3 separate regions of the Homo sapiens genome follow, and all the other regions are linked to region 2. Evidence: promoter capture Hi-C in human tissues and cell types (Jung and others, 2019). All regions are on one chromosome and are shown on one strand. Each heading gives the region's core, a stretch centred on a gene start or on the middle of the fragment in contact. The rest is flanking DNA. Distances are from core to core; before and after follow the strand shown.

Region 1 (4,108 bases), core at 276-2,775, 560 kb after region 2:
AATAAAAAATATAAAGGCCGGCTTGTGGCTCACGTCTGTAATCGCAGCACTTTGAGAGGCCGAGGCCGGCGGATCACAGATATTGAGACCATCCTGGCCAACATGGTGAAACCCTGCGTCTACTAAAAATACAAAAATCAGCTGGGAGTGGTGGCGTGCACCTGTAGTCCCAGCTACTCGGGAGGCTGAGGCAGGAGAATCGCTTGAACCCAGGAGGCAGAGATTGCAGTGAGCCCAGATCTCACCACTGCGTTCCAGCCTGGACGATAGAAGGAGACTGTCTCAAAAAAAAAAAAAAAAAAAAAAAAAGGCTGGGCAAGGTGGCTCATGCCTGTAATTCCTGCACTTTGGGAGGCCGAGGCGGGCGGATCAGGAGGTCAGGAGATCGAGACCATCCTGGCTAACACGGTGAAACCCTGTCTCTACTAATAAATACAAAAAATTAGCTGGGCGTGGTGACGGGCGCCTGTAGTCCCAGCTATTCGGGAGGCTGAGGCAGGAGAATGGCGTGAACCTGGGAGGTGGAGCTTGCAGTGAGCCGAGATTGTGCCAGTGTACTCCAGCCTGGGTGACAGAGCGAGACTCCGTCTCAAAATAATAATAAAAAATGAATTTAGGCCGGGCGCAATGGCTCACGCCTGTAATCTCAGCACTTTGGAAAGCTGAGGTGCCGGATCACCTGAGCTTAGGAGTTCGAGACCAGCCTGGGCAACATGGTGAAACCCCGTCTCTACTAAAAATACAAAAATTAGCCGGGCGTGGTGATGGGCACCTGTAATCCCAGCTACTTGGGAGGCTGAGGCACGAGAATCGTTTGAACCCGGGAGGTGGAGGTTGCAGTGAGCTGGATACCGCCGCTGCACTCCTGCCTGGGTGACAGAGTGAGACCCTGTCTCAAAAAATAAAATTAAAAAAAAAACAAACCTGATACCTCCCAGTGTTGTCAGTTGGCACATACTATGTCTCAATAAAATGCTTGCTGTTACCCTCTATTTTGAGACGAAGAGGGACCCTGTGTATGACAACCCCAGATTGACCTCATTTGCATTTTAAGTATTTAGAATGTGGGTAACAGTTTTCAGTGGAGGAAACTGCCACATAGGGACTAAAGCAGTCCCAGGGTCCACTCCAGGAGCTGCCAGGCGCGCTCGGCCACAGGTGAGCCATCCATTCGCCCAACCGGTGCTCCAGGAAGGCAGGAAGCGGGATGCAGGGCTTCAGCCTCACTTCTCGCAGCTTCAGCACCTGGGTCAGAGGAGAGGCGGGCGGGGCGATGAAGGGACCGGAAGTCGGCCTTTTTTCCGTCCGCTTGACCAGCGTCGACTGCAGCCAATGAAATCAGGGATGGCGAGTGTTCAGCCAGTGGTGAGGCTGCATCCGGGTGTGGGTGCCGAAAAGGCAGCTGGGGGCGGGACGTCGAGGTGCGGCACGAGCGGCGGGCGCACCGGCCAATAGGCGGCGGGGTTCGTTTCCCGGGGGTGGGCACTGGCGGGTGCGGTGACGTCGGCGCAGGCGCGTCGCGGCGGCAGGGGCGCGGGGCTTCTGGAGGCGGCGGCGGTGGCCAGCGCGGCGGCGCCGGCCGTATTCTCCGGGCTGCGGAGGGTAAAGAGCGGGCTCGGGCCGAGGCTGGAGGGCTGGGTGGGGCCAGAGCGGCGCTTCGGGGGCCCGCGGAGGACGAGGGAGGGAGAGAATCTGAGGAGCTGGTAGGTTTGGGGACCCATCTGGGTGACCGGGCCGGGGAAAGGGCTCGGCCGGGCGTGCGAGGGGCGTAGCGGCCCCAGGGATGCTGGAGCGGAGCCTTAGGGATGGGCAAGGCCTTGGGGGCGGGGGGAGGTTCTGCAAAGGGAGCCACTGGGGTCTGCCTAGGGGCTTGTGCGGAGATTGCGGGCGAGAAGGGGCAGAGGACGGTGGAGGAGACTCAGATGGGGCCCTTTTTGGCGGCCCGTTTTGGGGGGTAGGGGAGACGGCGGTTGGGGGACTTTGATACATGGAGCGTGGAGGAAGAGGTTAATCTTGCGAGGACAGTGGAGGTCAGCGGGGGAGGGAGGCAAAGTGGGCTTTCAGGAGCGTGGAAGGCGTCGTCCGGTTCTTGGAAAATTCAGAATTGGAGGGAGTCAGAGATGGTTGGGGGTGGGCGGGGGTGTTCCATCGATGAGGGTCTTAAGAGACCTGCCGAGGGCAAGGACCAGGAGGGGTTAAGGTAGTAACTTGGGAATTTTGATCGGAATGGCAGCACTTTGGGAGGCCTGGGACGATCGCTTGAGCCTTGGAGTTCCAGGCTGCAGTGAGCCATGATTGCACCACTGCACTCCAGCCAGGGCGACAGAGCGAGACTCCTTCTCAAAAAACAACAACACCAACAACAAAAGAAGTAGACTTGAGAACTTCGTTAAGACATTGGCCAGGGAGTAAGGTAGCCCTGGGATTTGAGGTTGAGGAGAACGTGCAGGAATGGTGGGGGATTTTGGCTGAGCAGGTTGAGAGAAGTCTAGGAGTGAGAGGCAAAAAAAGACGCAGGCAGCGTCGGGGAAATCAGAATTATGTGTCTGGAGAGAGTTTTGCGGGGTGAAGGTGGCCCAGTGGGGCTGTTACCAAACTTTTGAGTGGTTATGGGGCTCTAAGAGGTGACATGACAGGACCCAGCCCAGTAAACACAGCACCTCTTTTTGTCGAGTTTGGAGCTTCAGAGTGGAGAGGTGGGAGGCTTGTGTTTGCTGGACAGGTCTGTCCATTAATCTAGGAGAAAAGGGTGGTGTCTCAGTTCCTCACTTCTGTCTTTCCCTGTCTTCTCCAGGGTTGCCATTAGGGGACTCCTGAGGTCCTATCTCCAGGCTGCGGTGACTGCACTTTCCCTGGAGTGGAAGCTGCTGGAAGGCGGACCGGCCGCCATGTCCACGTTCAGGCAGGAGGACGTGGAGGACCATTATGAGATGGGGGAGGAGCTGGGCAGGTGAGCTGTCTGCCCGCACGGCTGGGCTCCAGGGATAGGAGAGAGGCGCTGTGGGGTTTTCTGAACAGCAGCTCTCCTTTCCTGTTCTTTATCCTGTATGCTGAGAAGGAATGAGTCAGTATCATGCGGTGGGGGAACGAATTTGGGCCGTGGAGTCAGACAGCCCCGGCTGTGAATTCCTGCTTGGGAATCCTCTGTGTGTTTCCTGTGGGGAGAAAAGTAATTGAGCCGTTACAGCAGCCAAGACCGTGCCTGGCATGGGGCACCAGAGCAACAGATGCCAGCTGCTTTTGTTATTAAAAGATGTGTCTTCTGCCTGGGCAACATAGCAAGACTCCATCCCTACAAAAAATAAAAATGAAAAAAAATTAACCAGGTGTGGTAGCTCATGCCTGTAGTCCCAGCTACTAGGGAAGCTGAGACGGGAGGATGGCTTGAGCCCAGGAGTTGGAGGAGGCTGCAGTGAGCTATGATCGTGCCACTGCACTGTAGCCTGGGCAACAGAGTGAAACCCCATTTATTTAAAAAAAAAAAAATCTCCCTGTGTTAATCCTCTTTTGTGGGAGGCACTTTAGTTTTTTTGCCCAGCTCTTGGATGTTTAAAGTGGGGGGAGGGAGGGGCGTGTCTCCCAGCTGGGCCCAAACCTCGGTCAATTGTTTAACATGCTTGTGGGAAAAAGCAGAGGTTTCCTCTTCCAGGGAGGCAGCTGATTTCCTGCCTGTCTGGGCCTTGGAGGGTCCCCCTGGGGCCCCACCCCCTCCAGACTAGCCAGGCACCACTAGGCCCTGCCTCCTTTTGTAGAGCCTCCAGCCTTATTTGGTGAGTTTGCTACTGGCCAGCCTCCCTGGAGCCTCCCCATGATGTCACCAGAAGGGAATGTAAATAAGTGAGCTCTGTGTCAGGCTAGGGAGAGTGCTGCAGGCTCTTTTGGGATCCTGAGGTCCCTCCTTCAGGAATTTCCTCGTTAGTGGCAGAGAAAGCATGCTCCCTCCTCCCCCTTCTCATGCTTCAGTGTTGACCCCTCCTGCTAGGGGTCGTTTGGCAAAAGTCAGCAAAATTCAGCCAAATTTCTTTTAACTCGCCGATTTCACCTCTAGGAATTAATTCATTGGAAAACTGTACATACATGGATGGAATGACTTAAGACTGGGGTAGTT
Region 2 (4,201 bases), core at 1,702-4,201:
CTCACTGGCCAGCGTGCCCGAGGGGCTCTGGGCATCCCTAGGGCAGCCAAACTGGGACATGCGGGATGGCTTCGACATCTCCGGCAACCCCTGGATCTGTGACCAGAACCTGAGCGACCTCTATCGTTGGCTTCAGGCCCAAAAAGACAAGATGTTTTCCCAGAATGACACGCGCTGTGCTGGGCCTGAAGCCGTGAAGGGCCAGACGCTCCTGGCAGTGGCCAAGTCCCAGTGAGACCAGGGGCTTGGGTTGAGGGTGGGGGGTCTGGTAGAACACTGCAACCCGCTTAACAAATAATCCTGCCTTTGGCCGGGTGCGGGGGCTCACGCCTGTAATCCCAGCACTTTGGGAGGCCCAGGTGGGCGGATCACGAGGTCAGGAGATCGAGACCATCTTGGCTAACATGGTGAAACCCTGTCTCTACTAAAAATATAAAAAATTAGCCAGGCGTGGTGGTGGGCACCTGTAGTCCCAGCAACTCGGGAGGCTGAGGCAGGAGAATGGCGTGAACTTGGGAGGCGGAGCTTGCGGTGAGCCAAGATCGTGCCACTGCACTCTAGCCTGGGCGACAGAGCAAGACTGTCTCAAAAAAATTAAAATTAAAATTAAAAACAAATAATCCTGCCTTTTACAGGTGAAACTCGGGGCTGTCCATAGCGGCTGGGACCCCGTTTCATCCATCCATGCTTCCTAGAACACACGATGGGCTTTCCTTACCCATGCCCAAGGTGTGCCCTCCGTCTGGAATGCCGTTCCCTGTTTCCCAGATCTCTTGAACTCTGGGTTCTCCCAGCCCCTTGTCCTTCCTTCCAGCTGAGCCCTGGCCACACTGGGGCTGCCTTTCTCTGACTCTGTCTTCCCCAAGTCAGGGGGCTCTCTGAGTGCAGGGTCTGATGCTGAGTCCCACTTAGCTTGGGGTCAGAACCAAGGGGTTTAATAAATAACCCTTGAAAACTGGATCGGATGAATTGGCTTTCATTGTGTTCCTAGCATCTTCTCAAATCAACTTCCCAGGACTCCAGGGTGAAGGAGGAAAAGAGGCATGGCCCAGGCCCTGGGGTGTGGGATATGGTCTCCCTAGGGGATGACAGTTGGGATCAATGGCCTGTGACTTCTCCTCTCCCTTCCCCCATCCTGGGACCTAACTGGAAATAAAACCTTGACTGTTGCCCGGGTGTCATTTTACCAGTGGATTTCTGCCAGGGCTTGTGTCCTAGGAGAAGGTTTAAGTTAAACCAGATTGCCCAGGTCTCCAAACGATTTGTCATGCTGACCTGAGATCATCGAAGGGGGCACCTGCCCCCGGGCAAGGTTGCAGGGGCAGGATGGGGCTGAAGGGATGAGCAGGGTCCCGGGCCCACCTGCTGATACAGCATTGGCCATGTGGGGGCTGCAATCGGATTTGGAAGACCCTGGGGCTTGGGGGCATGTCCAGTTTTCCCAGCTCCCTAAAAAATGACCATGCAGCCTGGCGCCGTGGCTCATGCCTGTAATCCAAACACTTTGGGAGGCTGAGGCAGGCAGATCACCGGAGGTCAGGAGTTCGAGACCAGACTGGCCAACATGGCAAAACCCTGTCTCTACTAAAAATACAAAAATTAGCCAGGCACAGTGGCACGTGCCTGTAATACCAGCTACTTGGGAGGGTCAGGCAGGAGAATCACTTGAACCTGGGAGGCGGAGGTTGCAGTGAGCCAAGATCACGCCACTGCACTCCAGGCTGGGCGACAGAGTGAAACTGTGTCTCAAAAATAAAAATAAAAATAAAAAGACCATGCCTACATCTGTGGTCATTCCAGGCAAGGCAATGAAAAGGCAGGGTTCTGAGGTCCAGCAGGGCTGGGTTTGAATAGGATCCCTGGCCGGGCACGGTGGCTCATGCCTGTAATCCTAGTACTTTGGGAGGCCAAGGCAGGCAAATCACGAGGTCAGGAGTCCAAGACCAGCCTGACGAATATGGTGACACCCCGTCTCTACTAAAAATACAAAAATTAGCTAGGTGTGGTGGCAGGCGCCTGTAATCCCAGCTACTCCGGAGGCCGAGGCAGGAGAATCACTTGAACCCAGGGGGCGGAGGTTGCAGTGTGTCAAGATCGCGCCACTGCACTCCAGCCTGGGCGACAGAGTCAGACTCTGTCTCAAAAAAAAAAAAAGAAAAAAAAGGAATAGGATCCCTCACTTGCTGTGGTATGCGGGGCAAGTGTTTTATGATCTCTGAGCCTCAGCTTGCTCATCTGTGAAATGGGGATCCTAGGGAAAGGGAAGGCCTGGCTTCTGGCTTAGTTAAGGGGCAGATTAAGAAATAAAAAGAGGCTGGGTGCAATGGCTCACACCTGTAATCCCAGCAATTTGGAAGGCTGAGGTGGAAGGATCACTTGGGGCTCAGGGGTTGAAGACAAGCCTGGTCAACACAGGGACATCTCGTCTCTACAAAAAGTTTAAAAAGTTAGCTGGGGGTGGTGGTGTGTGCCTGTGGTCCCAGCTACTTAGGAGACTGAGGCGGGAGGATCACCTCAGCCTGGGAGGGCAAGGCTGCAGTGAGCTATGATCACACCACTGCACTCTAGCCCTGGGCAACCGAGCAAGACCCAGTCTCAAAAATCGATAAATAATAATAATTAATAAGAAAAGTCATCAGCGAGTTGGCCAAGGTCACTCAGCAGGGCTATGGGGGCTGTGATCGCATGGACTGTCTCTATGGCAACAGCAGTGAGGATGACAGGTGGCCAAACTTGGTCCGGGAACGTATAATAGCTCAATCTTTTGAATCTAGCGCTCCCGAATTACTATGGCAACCGTAGGGCACTGGGCCAGCTCAAGGAGAGGGCGAGGGAAGCCTGGAGCCACGCCCCCTGGGCACGCCCCCGCACGGCCTCTCCCCATTGGTCAGTTCCGGAGGCCCCCACTGCGCGAGCAGCTATAAGAAGGGCGGGCGGGACCGGCGGGGGTGTGGAGACTCGAGCCTGGGGTCGGCGGAGACAGCTGGTGTCTGAAGCCGCTCGCGCCCAGGTGAGTGCCCTGAGGGCGGCGTCCGGGAGCGCCCCCCCGGGCTTAGGAGAGGAGCTCCAGATAGGGTGGTTGGGCGAAGGTCCGGCGGCGTGGGACGGGTATGACCGGCCAGAGCAGGTGGCTGGGACCCTTGGCCCGGTTGGCCCCAGCTCAGGACCCAGTTGGGCGAGGACCAGGCCTCAGAGGACGCGGGGTGGCAACCGGAGGGATCGCAGGCGGCAGGTCTGAGGCCCGAGGTCGAGCTCCCCCCCTGTAACTCTAGCTGGCTGCGTGACCTTGGGACCAGCATGGACCTGCTGCGTACCTCAGTTGCCCTGTCTGTCAAATGAGCTGTGAGTGGACTGGGACCCAGCAGCTACCACCTCCAGCCGTCTAGGGTGCTTGGGCAGTTCTGGGCCCAGGCAGGGGCCGCAGGGGTAGCAGGGACCTCCCACATCTTACAAAACAGGAAGCAGCCCAGAGAGGTGAAGGTGCTTGCCAAAAATCACACAGCTGGCCAGGTGCAGTGTCTCATGCCTGTAATCCCAGCACTTTGGGAGGCCGAGGTGGGCAGATCACTTGAGCCCAGGAGTTTGAGACCAGCCTGGGCAACATGGCGAAACCCGGTTTCTACTAAAAATACAAAAATTAGCCGAGCATGGTGGCACGTGGGTAATCCCAGCTAACTGGGAGGCTGAAGCAGGAGAATCACTTGAACCTGGGAGGCGGAAATTGCAGTGAGCTGGGATGGCGCCACTGCTCTCCAGCCTGGGCGAGAGAGATTCTGTCTTTAAAAAAATAATAAAAATAACACCGCAATTAATGGTAGCATTTGAACCCAGGTCTTTCTCACCTCAGAGACCATGCTTCGAGTCACTCCGGCAACCCTACCTTGCCAGAGGCTCATTATTGGACACCCTCTGTGTACAGAGCTCTGGACATGCATTGTCTGAGCTCCACAGAATGCCCCATTATGCAGATGAAGAAACTGAGGCCCCAAGAGGTTTGAGAGTTGCTCAAGTCACAGAGCCCAATTTGACAGGATCTGATGCCTGGGCAGGTGCTCCCCTTACTCAATCCTGCCCCGCAGGGTGACCCTGTTTGCAGCACGATGTCTGAAGAAGAGGCGGCTCAGATCCCCAGATCCAGTGTGTGGGAGCAGGACCAGCAGGTGAGGGCTGCCCCTCCCATGGAGCAGGGACAGAAGGTATT
Region 3 (3,666 bases), core at 69-2,568, 540 kb after region 2:
ATTAACAGCATCCCAAGGCAGAAGAATTTTTCTCAGTACAGAACAAAATGGAGTCTCCTATGTCCACTTCTTTCCACACAGACAGCGTAACAATCTGACCTCTCTTTCTTTTCCCCACATTTCCCCCTTTTTCTATTCGACAAAACCGCCATCGTCATCATGGTCTGCTCTCAATGAGCTGCTGGGTACACCTCCCAGACGGGGTGGCGGCCGGGCAGAGGGGCTCCTCACTTCCCAGACGGGGCGGCCGGGCAGAGACGCCCCCCACCTCTCGGACGGGGCGGCTGGCCGGGCGGGGGCTGCCCCCCACCTCCCTTCCGGACGGGGCAGCTGGCCGGGCGGGGGCTGCCCCCGGCCAGGCTGGTCTTGAACTCCTGACCTCGAGTGATCTGCCCTCCTGGACCTCCCAAAATGCTGGGATTACGGGTGTGAACCACTGAGCCAGGCCTGTATGCTAGTAGAACTTCATAAACACAGAAATTTCAATCTTACGTATTTTCACATGTCATGTTATTATTATGCTTTTGTTTGAACATTTAAAAGAGAAAGAAGGCCGGGTGCTGTGGGTCGGGTGTGTAATCCCAGAACTTTTGGAGATCCAGGCAGGAGGACTGCTTGAACACAGGATTTCTACACCAGACTGAGCAACATAATGAGATCCTCTCTCTGCAAAAAATAAAAAATTAAGTAGGCATGGTGGTGCACGCCTACAGTCTTACCTACTCAGGTGGATGGCTTGAGCCCAGGAGTTCCAGGCAGCAGTGAACCGTGATTGTGTCACTGCACTCCAGCCTGGGTGACAGAGAGAGACTCTGTCTCAAAAGTAATAATAATAATAATAATAATAATAATACGCTGGGCGCAGTGGCTCATGCCTGTAATCCCAGCACTTTGGGAGGCCGAGGCGGGCAGATCACGAGATCAGGAGATCGAGACCATCCTGGCTAACACGGTGAAACCCCGTCTCTACTAAAAATACAAAAAATTAGCCGGGCATGGTGGCGGGCGCCTGTAGTCCCAGCTACTCGGGAGGCTGAGGCAGGAAAACGGCGTGAACCCGGGAGGCGGAGCTTGCAGTGAGCCGAGATTGTGCCACTGAACTCCAGCCTGGTTACAGAGCGAGACTCAAAAAAAAAAAAAAAAAAAGATTAGGGCTGAGGGCTGTAGCTTGCTAGTCTTTGTTAGAGATGCTCAGACACAGTGGTGACCACAACAGGCAAAATTCCCTGTCCTCGTGGAACTGGCATTCCAGGAGGGAGATCAACAACAAACAAAATCAAAAGCTAATTAAAGGTCCCGGCGTGGTGGGTCACGCCTGTAATCCCAGCACTTTGGGAGGCTGACATGGGCGGATCACCTGAGGCCCAGAGTTCGAGACCAGCCTGGCCAAGATGGTGAAAACCCATCTCTACCAAAAATAAAAATTTAGCTGGGCGTGGTGGCACACGCCTGTAGTCCCAGCTACTTGGGAGGCTGAGGCAGGAGAGTCACTTGAACCCGGAAGGTGGAGCTTGCAGTGAGCCGAGATGGCACCACTGTACTCCAGCCTGGGCAACAGAGGGAGACTCCATCTCAAAAAAAAAAAAAAAGGCTAAATACAGAACATGTTCAGACACTGATGGGAGGTAGACAGACAAGAAAGAGGAGAGGGAGGCTATGGAAAATCCCCACACGACCAATTTAAAGCTTTACAGCCTGTTTTAGGACAGAATTCATCAGTTCTAAATCAGATCCTTTGCAATTCTGACAAAATTCACAAACCACCTCCACTGTTATGTAAGATACATAGAGATAGATGGAGAGAGGTAGATATAGATACAGATAGTTACTCCCGTTTTGCACTTAAGTAAATGGAGTTGTTTCCTGGGCAAAAATACCTATGAGCTGGGCGCGGTAGCTCAAGCTTGTAATCCCAGCACTTTAGGAGGCCGAGGCGGGTGGATCATGAGGTCAGGAGTTTGAGACCAGCCTGGCCAACATGGTGAAACCCTGTCTCTACTAGAAATACAAAAAAAATTACTGGGGCGTGGTGGCACGCACCTGTAATCCCAGCTACTCAGGATGCTGAGGCAGGAGAATCTCTTGAACCTGGGAGACAGAGGTTGCAGTGAGCCGAGATGAGGACACTGCACTCCAGCCTCGGTGACAGAAGGAGACTCCATCTTTACCAAAAAAAAAAAGTATCAAATTGTGAATTTGGTGTTAGCTGAATATTAAAAGCATCTTAAATTTAAATAAAGTTGTGTGCACGTTTGTATATATGTATTTCAAAACATAGCAATGTATTATCACAATTGATTGCATTTTCTGGCTCTAAAACAGATTGTAGGCCAGGCACAGTGGCTCACTCCTGTAATCCCAGCATTTTGGGAGGCCGAGGCAGGAGGATCACCTGAGGTCAGAAGTTTGAGACCAGCCCACGCAACATGGTGAAACCCCTGTCTCCACTAAAAATACAAAAATTAGCCGGGCATAGTGGCACACACCTGTAATTCCAGCTACTCAGGAGGCTGAGACAGGAGAATCGCTTTAACCCGAGAGGCAGAGGTTGCAGTGAGCTGAGATCATGCTGCTGCACTCCAGCCTGGGCAACACGCGAGACTCCATCTCAAAAAAATAAAATAAATAAGTAAATAAATAAATAAAACAGATTGTATAAACAAATATAATCTAATTGGGGGACAGGTTGGGCGCCGGGGCTTAGGCCTAGAATCCCAGCACTTTGGGAGGCTGAGGCAGGAGGATTGCTTGAGCTCAGGAGTTCAAGACCAGCCTGGGCAACATAGACCCCATCTCTTCAACAATCTTAAAAATACCCAGGTATGGCCGGGCGTGGTGACTCACACCTGTAATCCCAGCACTTTGGGAGGCCGAGGCGGGCAGATCACAAGGTCAGGAGATTGAGACCATCCTGGCTAACACGGTGAAACCCTGTCTCTACTAAAAATACAGAAAAATTAGCCGGGTGTCGTGGCATGCGCCTGTAGTCCCAGATGCTGGGGAGGCTGTGGCAGGAGAATGGTGTGAACCCGGGAGGCGGAGCTTGCAGTGAGCCGAGATGGCGCCACTGCACTCCAGCCTGGGCGACAGAGCGAGACTCCATCTCAATTTAAAAAAAAACAACAAAAAACCCAGGTATGGTGGCGTGAACTTGTAGTCCCAGCTAATCGGGAGGCTGAGGTGAGAGAACTGCTTGAGCCTGGGAGGTCGAGGCTGCAGTGAGCTATGATCACACCAGTGCACTCCAGCCTGCGTAACAGTGAGATGCTGTCTAAAGATAAATAAGTAAATAATTGAATTGGGAGTTAAGGAATTTGTTCTCTCTCCCACCACCCCACCCTCAGGGCATTTTCTCAGGGACACAGAAGTCTCTTTCATAGGAATAACCACCCGCCTACTATTTTTTTTTCTTTTTGAGACTGAGTCTCACTCTATCACCCAGGCTGGAGTGCAGTGGCAATATCTTGGCTCTCTGCAACCTCCGCCTCCTAGGCTCAAGCAATCCTCCCACCTCAGCCTCCTGAGTAGCTGGTTTTATAGCCACACGCCACCATGCCCAGCTAATTTTTTTGCAGTTTTTGTAGAGATGAGGAGAATTGCTTTAACCCAGAAGGTGGAGGGTTGCAGTCAGCTGAGATTGTGCCACTGCACTCCAGCCTGGCGACA

Evidence for each region. Contacts are between HindIII fragments. The study calls those that stand out against the background at their distance.
Region 1: a contact is called between the fragment with the promoter of DAPK3 here and the fragment with the promoter of PLIN5 in region 2, in 1 of the 25 tissues and cell types used here (spleen).
Region 3: a fragment that was not itself captured here is called in contact with the fragment with the promoter of PLIN5 in region 2 in 2 of the 25 tissues and cell types used here (bladder and spleen).

The regions. Positions count from the first base shown.
Region 1 is chr19:3,968,516-3,972,623 of GRCh38, reverse strand. DAPK3 (death associated protein kinase 3) reads left to right here and starts at 1,525. Exons shown (of 9, transcript NM_001348.3): 1 at 1,525-1,703; 2 at 2,795-2,950. The coding sequence starts at 2,889. RefSeq lists silencers at 1,541-1,670, 2,659-2,953 and enhancers at 1,842-2,473, 2,474-3,103. The HindIII fragment of the contact is 13,824 bases long and covers 1-4,108 here.
Region 2 is chr19:4,533,974-4,538,174 of GRCh38, reverse strand. PLIN5 (perilipin 5) reads left to right here and starts at 2,951. Exons shown (of 8, transcript NM_001013706.3): 1 at 2,951-3,010; 2 at 4,080-4,160. The coding sequence starts at 4,101. It overlaps LRG1 (leucine rich alpha-2-glycoprotein 1), which reads left to right. Exons shown (of 2, transcript NM_052972.3): 2 at 1-1,773. The coding sequence ends at 235. RefSeq lists an enhancer at 3,245-3,800. The HindIII fragment of the contact is 58,476 bases long and covers 1-4,201 here.
Region 3 is chr19:3,995,472-3,999,137 of GRCh38, reverse strand. No RefSeq gene overlaps it. Among named protein-coding and RNA genes, the nearest start is that of PIAS4, 10 kb to the left of the region's middle. RefSeq lists an enhancer at 1-299. The HindIII fragment of the contact is 5,265 bases long and covers 1-3,666 here.